Linked DNA regions of Homo sapiens: all the other regions are linked to region 2. Evidence: promoter capture Hi-C in 16 types of primary human blood cells and fetal thymus (Javierre and others, 2016). All regions are on one chromosome and are shown on one strand. Each heading gives the region's core, a stretch centred on a gene start or on the middle of the fragment in contact. The rest is flanking DNA. Distances are from core to core; before and after follow the strand shown. Region 1 overlaps HECW2 (HECT, C2 and WW domain containing E3 ubiquitin protein ligase 2). Region 2 holds the start of SF3B1 (splicing factor 3b subunit 1). Region 3 overlaps STK17B (serine/threonine kinase 17b).

Region 1 (2,700 bases), core at 27-2,526, 1.2 Mb before region 2:
TAGCAAAAAAACACAATACTTTGGAGAAATATCCAGTGGATGAATGCATGTATAATTTGGGGAATCTTTCAAAGTTACATCAGAGAACAATGTTTATCAGAAAATAATTTAACAAATATCTGAGAGTGATACTATGAAAAGAACCTAAACTAATTTTGGCTATTGGAGTTCCTGTTTTGGGCCTTTTAAATTTTAGGTGATTGACTGTCCAGTTGTCTTCAAGTTGACATTAATAGTTAAAAGAGATTCCATGCATCAAAAATGTGAAAATTAGATATATACGTGATATACAATTCAAAAGCATATGCAGATCTATAAATTAGTACATCCATTCAAATAAAACATGACTAGCACTTATTCCTTTTGCAGAAGTCATAGAATAGATGACAGGTTCTAAGAATCTGTGTTCCTTACTGCCCTGAAGAAGAAAGTCTCTAATCTCTTAATAGGCCTACAAGATAATTAGTTCCTTGGAAAGGTATTTTAATATACCTTTGGATGGCTTCTAAAACGTTATCTTAATGATATTGCCATGATATTTTGGCCCTCAGTAATTTCCAGCTAAACCTTGAGCCAGAAGGCTCAGTCCTCAGTCTAGGCATGGAGCAGTCAAGGCTGGTTTTATTGTGTAAATGTAAAATATTTTAGAGTAACGCTCCCTGTAGGAAACAATGTGACAGCACCACTAAAAAGCCCTCCTATAAACAAATTAATAGTTGAATTAAAGATGGCCAGGCAGGGTGGCTCACGCCTATAATCCCAACACTTTGGGAGGCCCAGGAAGGCAGATCACTTGAGGCCAGGAGTTCAAGACTGGCCTGGCCAACATGGTGAAACCCCATCTCTACTGAAAATACAAAAATTAGCCGGGCATGGTAGTGCATTGCTGTAGTTCTGGCTACTCAGGAGGCTGAGGTACAAGAATTGCTTGAACCCGGGAGGCAGAGGTTGCAGTGAGCCGAGATTGTGCCCACTGCACTCCAGCCTGGGTGACAGAGTGAGACTCTGTCCGCTCCCCACCCCCAAAAGGAAAAGAGATCCTAGATCCTAGTTGCATTTAAATTATATCCACAGAATCACACTGGTCCATTTATATGCATGATTAATTTCAGGAATAGTGGTTTTTAGAATTAGAGTAAGTTTAGGGGCAAATTACTTTAAACTGAGTCCTTCTGATAGAACAAAGAAGTGAAGGGCACACTACTAATATAATATTGATTTAAATTTACTATATGCTTACTATGCTTACACAGTATCAAATGGTTTATACATATATTATTTCATTTAATCTTCAAAAAGATGCTGGAAGTTAGAAATTCCGATCCCCATTTTACAGACGAGGATGACAACTTGGAGGTTGTTTAATGTCTCATTCGAAGTCACCTGGTGGGTAAATTGCAGAGCCAGAATTCAAACCTAGGCCTTTCTGGCTCCAAACCTGAACAAAATCTTAAGAGCTATACTCAACTACCTTCTAAGAGCCATTACTGCTGCTCTCCCAGTGAGACAGAGTCTACTATTAGGACTTCCCAATGACCATTACTATGTGGTGTCAATAAATTATTTTAATCAGGTGTCCAGGCACAGTGGCTCATGCCTGTTATCCCAGCACTTTGGGAGGCTGAAGCAGGAGGATCTCTTAAGCCCAGGTATTCAAAATGAACCTGTACAACATAGCAAGACTCCATCTCTATTAAAAAAAAAAAAAAAAAAACACAAAACAATTAGCGGGGCAAGGTGGTGTGCTCCTGTAGTCCCAGCTACTTGGAAGGCTGAGGCAGGAGGATGGCTTGAGCCCAGGAGGTTGATGCTGCAGTCAGCTGTGATCGCGACACTACACTGCAGCCTGGGCAACAGAGTGAGACCCCCTGCCTCAAAAGAAAAAAAAAAAGGTGTCTTTAAAAATTCAATAATTATCCCTATGTAAACTGTCTGTAGGAAAATAATAGTCTCAGTCCAGATTTGCTATTATTTAAGTTTGGTACAGCAAAGATCAGAAGTTTGCCATGTTGGTCCAGACATCTGAGTGATAAGTAAACAAATCAGGAGAGGACTAAGGGAGAGAGCTAGGCAGGTCTTAACAGGAAAATGCATATGGATCATCAGAAGTAAATTCATGCTATTTTCACCAAGTACTTCAGTTGTTAACCAAGACTAACATTTCCAGTCTAATATTATATGCAGAAAAATTCATTTGCCACAAAGCTAGAAAAGAAATAGGTTAGCAATTTTGAACACTAGGGTTTATCTTAAGAAAGATAGCTTTTGAAACTTTAACTTTTTATTAACTAAAATTCTGTATTGTTTGATAAACTTCAAAATGGGCCATTATTTTTAAAATAAAAAAATTAAGAGTAAAATTAAACTCTAACAAAACCCCAGGGCTCTTCAAATAGGATAATGAAAGGAAATAGAAGGTTCAAGTCTGCATTTGCCTCTAGTCTGGTGAATCCTGAGACACATATCCATTTGCCTTTTGTGGTTCAGAATTTCTTGACTCCCAAGTTACTGATTTCCTGATAACATAAAATATGGAATGATCTAATCTACCCAGAATGAAAAAATTATCACAGATCATGTCCTCATGGTGAGGGGAGTTATATAGGAAGCACTCAAGGAGGAAACAGCCTGCTGCCAAAAATAATCACTGGTGCCTGGGGAGAGCTGGACTAGTAGGGAACAGATTTACTGGCTGGACTT
Region 2 (2,700 bases), core at 177-2,676:
TAATATTAAAGTCATTGACAATTCATTAGCATGTTTGATAAATAGCAGAAAGCTGGACTTCAGGTCCTCTGGGTGACCCAACTATTCAAAGCCATTCACATTCTGGTCCTAATCCAACCTTTCCAGATTCATTTATTTCTTCTCTACTTGCACCCTCTGTTCCTGCTACAGTGGACTACTACTCAAACACACCTTTCACGATTCAATACCTTGTTACAAGATGTTCTCAGGCTCAGATGTCCTTCCCGATTTAAAACTGACTGATCCTTTTAAAACACGGTCATGTAACCTCCTCAGTGAAACAACCCTAAACATAATCATTCCGTTACCCAGGTTCCCAGAACATGCTGCTTTTTCTTCTACTTAAGCATGCATCTGGCCTCATGAGAGAATGAGAACATACACATCTGTTTCTCCTATCAGACTGTAAAATTTTGGATGGCCTCAGTCTCTTACCTCTCACAGACTAATACCGAGCCAAATACCCAGAAAGAACATATGAAACAAAAGTGACTTAGAAGTCTCGTTCTCAGTGAAAATCTCGGATTCCAAGTCAGAAATCAAAGAATGCAGTTCCAACTTCTCATGCCTCGTCTTTTCTGAAAAGTGATCCCATTTTCTGTCATCTCTGGATACTTCCTAATGAACTCCAGTCTATTCCCAACGTTTTCCTAATTTGCACACTCTGTATTCCATAAAACGATCAACTAGCTTGAAAGCTTCGGCCATTAATGAAAGTAATTTATGTTTTCCTCTTCCATCTGCTCCTCCAATAACCAGTCTCCAAAGAAAAAGATCAATATTATACTAAAAGTGACTAAGGGAGGGAAAACAACTACCAGATTTTATCCCCAAATCGTTTCGTGCAAGAAAAATAAACAAGTAACTGACGCTTGAAGACACACAAGGGTAGGAGTAACGGAATCTCGGTTTAACCAAATTCGATTCAGTCTGCCGGAAAAGCGGCTGCCGTATTTCAGTGCTTTTCTGACCCTCTTCTGCACAAACTATGGGGACGACAGTGTCGAGAGGCGAGTGAGACCTTCTCCCCACGCCCGCTTCCCCGATCCCTTGCCCACGAATCCTACTGAGGAAGCCGCTTAAACGAGGCCCTCTGGTCAGAGAAGAGAAGCTACTCTGAAGTAGCAGGTCCCAAACACTGAACAAAGCGCCTGTCGGGGGTGTAAGAGGAGGACGCCATTACGCGGGGCAGTGGCCTGCGCCGCTGGCGCGGAGGAGACGACCCTTGGCCCCGAAACGCGGGCTCAGCTCCTACGAAAGAAACCATAGAAAAAGGCAGAATCCTAGGAAAAAAGGCTTTTATTAGGCTAGCAACGAAGAAAACACGTAAGCAGGGAAAGACCGCTTACCTTCGTGAGTCTTGGCGATCTTCGCCATTTTGTCCACTCGAACACACAGACGGAACTGGCGCTCCCAAGAACTTCCGCTCGTCGCCGCCGCCACGGAGAAAAATAGCTGGGGGCTGCACTCTGCGCGTGCGCCAAACGGGAGCGCGCTCCGTCGGGTGACACGTGACAGAACTGCCACCTAGAGGGAACCGCGAGGTGCATTGTGGGTGGGGGAGGAGACACGGTTGGGCCCTGAAGTCGCCTGCGTGGTGACCCAGGAAATCCCCGAGCCGAGCCGTAAGGTCCTTAAGTGAGTAACTTTGCCCTGGAGGAAAGTGGATTCTACGAAGGGAGTTAAGAACAGACACTGAGTCCCAGCAACTCTGGAGGCTGAGGCGGGAGCATCGCTTGAGCCCAGGAGTTCGAGGCAGCCGTGAGCCGTAATCGTGTCGCGCCACTGTACTCAAGCCTCCAGACCGGGCGACAGAGCAAGACCCCGAGACCCCTCCCATTAAAAAAAAATGAACACTGTACGAAACGCTGCGGTTTCAGAGCTGGAAGAGACCTCAGACATTCAATCCCTTTTCCCAAAATTCACTGGAAGAGCTCGAGGAAAACTTTCCCTTGCAGCTGTCTCAGTCTTTACAGTGCTTAGTTACGAAGACAGTCTTAACAGTCCCATCTTTCGCCCTGTAATTCAAGGTCATTTTTCATTCTTTCTGTTTAATAATTGCAAATAATTTGGGTAGGAATTTCGTTGAGCCTCACAAATCGTTGCTGAGTTGCACAGTGACAATCTTGCCACCCTTTTAAAGCCTTTTACTTTATGGGTTCCTAGAAAACCACTCATCGTCATTATTAACATTCATTAGATGTTTCTCTTAAATCCTAGACGGTATTCCTAAATCAGGAATTTTAATAGATCAGAATACGGCAGTCTGTTTTCCTGGGCATCAATTATAATATAACCTTGTACTGTCACACTGGTCTTTGACTTCGACGATGAAAAAGAAAGAAAGGCTCAGAAAGATGGGTCCCGGAAGCAGCCGAGGAAAACAGGTAGTTATCAAGGTTAGAGCCATCACAAAGAGAGGAGTACCTCGCTATGTGATAAACCTGCAACCCAAATACTAACCATACCATGGGTCAGTATGGTCGTTTGAAGGGAGGGAAATGGTATGGGTGTATTCCTCTTGCAGGAAGACCCCATATCTACTTTGGGTAAAGTGAGGAGCCATTTTCCTGAGGCTAGCGGTAGGTGGGAGATATATGGACAATGGCACTGGACTGAGAGCTTAGATAACCTGTCCCTGGTGACTCCTGACCTGCAGCCTTGCTCCCTCTTTCCCTC
Region 3 (2,700 bases), core at 43-2,542, 1.3 Mb before region 2:
TCTTTAAAGTTATAGAGGTTTCAGCTGGACATGGTGGTATACGCCTATAATCCCAGCACTTTGGGAGGCTGAGGCAGGAGGATCACTTGAGGCCAGAAGTTCAAAACCAGTCCTGGCAACATAGCGAGATCCCATCTCTATGAAAAAATTTAAAAATTAACTGGGTGTAGTGGCTCGCACCTGTAGTCCCAGCTGCTTGGGAGGCTGAGGCAGGAGCATCACTTGAGCCCAGAAGTTTGAGGTTGCAGTGAGCTATGAATGTGCTACTGCAGTTCAGTTTGGGCAATAAAGCGAGATCTTATCTCAATAAATAAATAAATAAATAAATAAATAAATAAATAAAGTTATAGGTTTCACATAATAGGTAATTTAATACGACAAGATAATAATTATTCATTTTAAACTTATTTTCACATGGCTAAAGAAATTTGGTGGTAAATGCACATATTGTGAGTTATATTACTGACGTGAAGGACTACAAGAAATAGAACTTCTTCCACGGATTGGCTATGTTTCAGTACTAAACTCAGAAACTCTCAAAGGTCTTAAGAGTCCCTCCTTTGACAGGACCTAGCACAGAGCCTGCTATGTATGAAGTGCTCAATAATTTTGTTGGAAGAGTGACTAACCTATACATAAAGCTTTATTTCGAAGTTCTGTATCTGAAGCTCATATATGTATCTGGAAATTTGTGATGTTTATATGCATTCAGTGTTATCAAAACTATTATATTAATTGCATTCATAAAACAATAACAGATACTATATTTCAAGACACTTATGACTTATTGCTATGCCTACTTAATAAAATATCAATTATTATTCTTTTAGCACCCTCCTGTAGTAACCCGCTAAGCATTTGTTCCTCCTCTGACATCTTTTTTTCCTATTTTCTACTTATATGTACTGTTCTTTATCTTCTTAAATTCAAATGCCAACTATAGTCTACTTAGCCAAAAAGCAGTGTCATTAGAGTTCAGCGTTTTCAGTTTCTACATTTTCTCTTCTTGGTGTTATTCTCAAATTATGAACGCGTCACTGCAGTTCAGCCTGGGCGATAGATGGAGACCTTGTCTCAAAAAATTAAATTAAAATTATAGCTTTCACATAACTAGATAGTAAAATTGTTTTCTCTACATCTCTTAGTCTTTGGGGAAACAGCTCTAACTAGTTTTGGGGTACATCTCTAGGAGTCAAAGGGTTGTAGTGTAGCATTCTGAGAATAACCTTTAGACTGAAAGACACCTGGGTCTGAATTCCATTCATCCATCATACCAGCTATGAGACCTTAATTAAATTATTTAACTTTGCTATTGTTATGGGCTGAATTGTGTCCTCCCCCAAATTCCTAAGTTGAAAAACCCTAACCCCTGTATCTCATAATGTGACTGTCTTTGGAGACAGGGCCTTTAAAAAGGTGATTAAGTTAAAATGAGGTCATTAAAGTGGGCCAATTAGGACACAGACACACACAGAGGAAAGACTATGTGAACACACTAGGAGAAGGCAGCCATCTACAAGCCAAGAGGGCAGGCCTCAGAAGAAACCAACCCCGCAGACACCCTGATCCCAGATTTCTAGCCTCCAGAATCGTTGAGAAAATATACTTCTGTTAAGTCGCCTGATCTGCGGCAACACAGTTATTTAAAAAGAAAACAAAATATATAATATTTCAAATGTAAGATAAGGAACACTATATACAAACATTTACTTTCCAATCTTATTACTTGGTCATATTTCATTTAAATTAAAAATAAAACATATTAGACATAGCCCCTTCTTTCCACCCCCAGTTTACACTCCCACTAGCACTGGATGGGACGGTTTATCACTACTTTGACAATACTTGCCCAATTCAGACTTTTAAGTTTGGCTATTCTAGTGTGATGAAGGTGAAATGGAATTTTGTTGTGATTTACTTCGCATTCCCTTTTACTGGTGAAGAAAGCTTCGATTTTGCTGCCTCTAAAGTATGGATGATAAAAGAATTGATCTTCCAGTGCTGCAAGGATTAAAAATTAAAATATGCTGAACTCATGTCCACTGACACAGGTACAGTGCAAGTCACAAGGGCATATCGCTATTGTTCCACAAAACAAAATTAACATTCTACCCAAAAATACTCTCCCTGCAGTTCCCTGCCATTGTTGAACAGCTGTACTGTTTCCATGTACAAAATTCTCATCCCAACTTAGTCTAAACTTCATTCTTAAAAGTATTTTTGTTTTCTGTTTTAACTACTTATGTATCTTCTTAGTTCTGATAGCGCTCAGTTTCACTGATTTTTTTCCATTGTTCTGAAAGATCAATATGGGTACCAATTTCCTCATAAGTTCATCTATTTATTAAAAATATACCTACATCACAAGCTGCTTTAGGCATCCATTAAGCATTTCTTAAGTTCATTTTCCTTTTATTTACTGCATCTGAACCAATTGTCAGAGCCAAGATATTTTTCCATTTCCTCTCCTTTGGCCAGTTTTGCATATAGTGGAGCATGAATGTCACCTTTGTCCACCAAGCCCTCCTCAAACATCTGGTTGCCCTTCATATAAGGTACATGCAGGTTATGAGTCAGCTCTCTGTCGCTCCTTCTTGTATCTTCCTAAATTTCCCACCAAATTCTCTTTAACTCCAACAATTCCCAGGCCTTTTCTTGTCTTCTACCACACTTCATATTACCGATTCTAAATTACCTATA

What was found. The method cuts DNA at HindIII sites, captures the fragments that hold promoters and counts their contacts. A CHiCAGO score of 5 or more calls a contact.
Region 1: a contact is called between a fragment that was not itself captured here and the fragment with the promoter of SF3B1 in region 2, in 1 of 17 cell types (neutrophils). The highest score is 5.1, in neutrophils.
Region 3: a contact is called between a fragment that was not itself captured here and the fragment with the promoter of SF3B1 in region 2, in 1 of 17 cell types (erythroblasts). The highest score is 7.3, in erythroblasts.

What each region holds. Positions count from the first base shown.
Region 1 is chr2:196,264,474-196,267,173 of GRCh38, forward strand. All of the region lies in intron 17 of HECW2 (HECT, C2 and WW domain containing E3 ubiquitin protein ligase 2), which reads right to left. Among named protein-coding and RNA genes, the nearest start is that of HECW2-AS1, 5.8 kb to the left of the region's middle. The HindIII fragment of the contact is 8,514 bases long and covers 1-2,700 here.
Region 2 is chr2:197,433,602-197,436,301 of GRCh38, forward strand. SF3B1 (splicing factor 3b subunit 1) reads right to left here and starts at 1,427. Exons shown (of 25, transcript NM_012433.4): 1 at 1,371-1,427. The coding sequence starts at 1,398. RefSeq lists enhancers at 764-1,310, 1,055-2,254, 1,496-1,805, 1,826-1,875. The HindIII fragment of the contact is 13,845 bases long and covers 718-2,700 here.
Region 3 is chr2:196,163,734-196,166,433 of GRCh38, forward strand. All of the region lies in intron 1 of STK17B (serine/threonine kinase 17b), which reads right to left. Among named protein-coding and RNA genes, the nearest start is that of STK17B, 6.5 kb to the right of the region's middle. The HindIII fragment of the contact is 1,306 bases long and covers 640-1,945 here.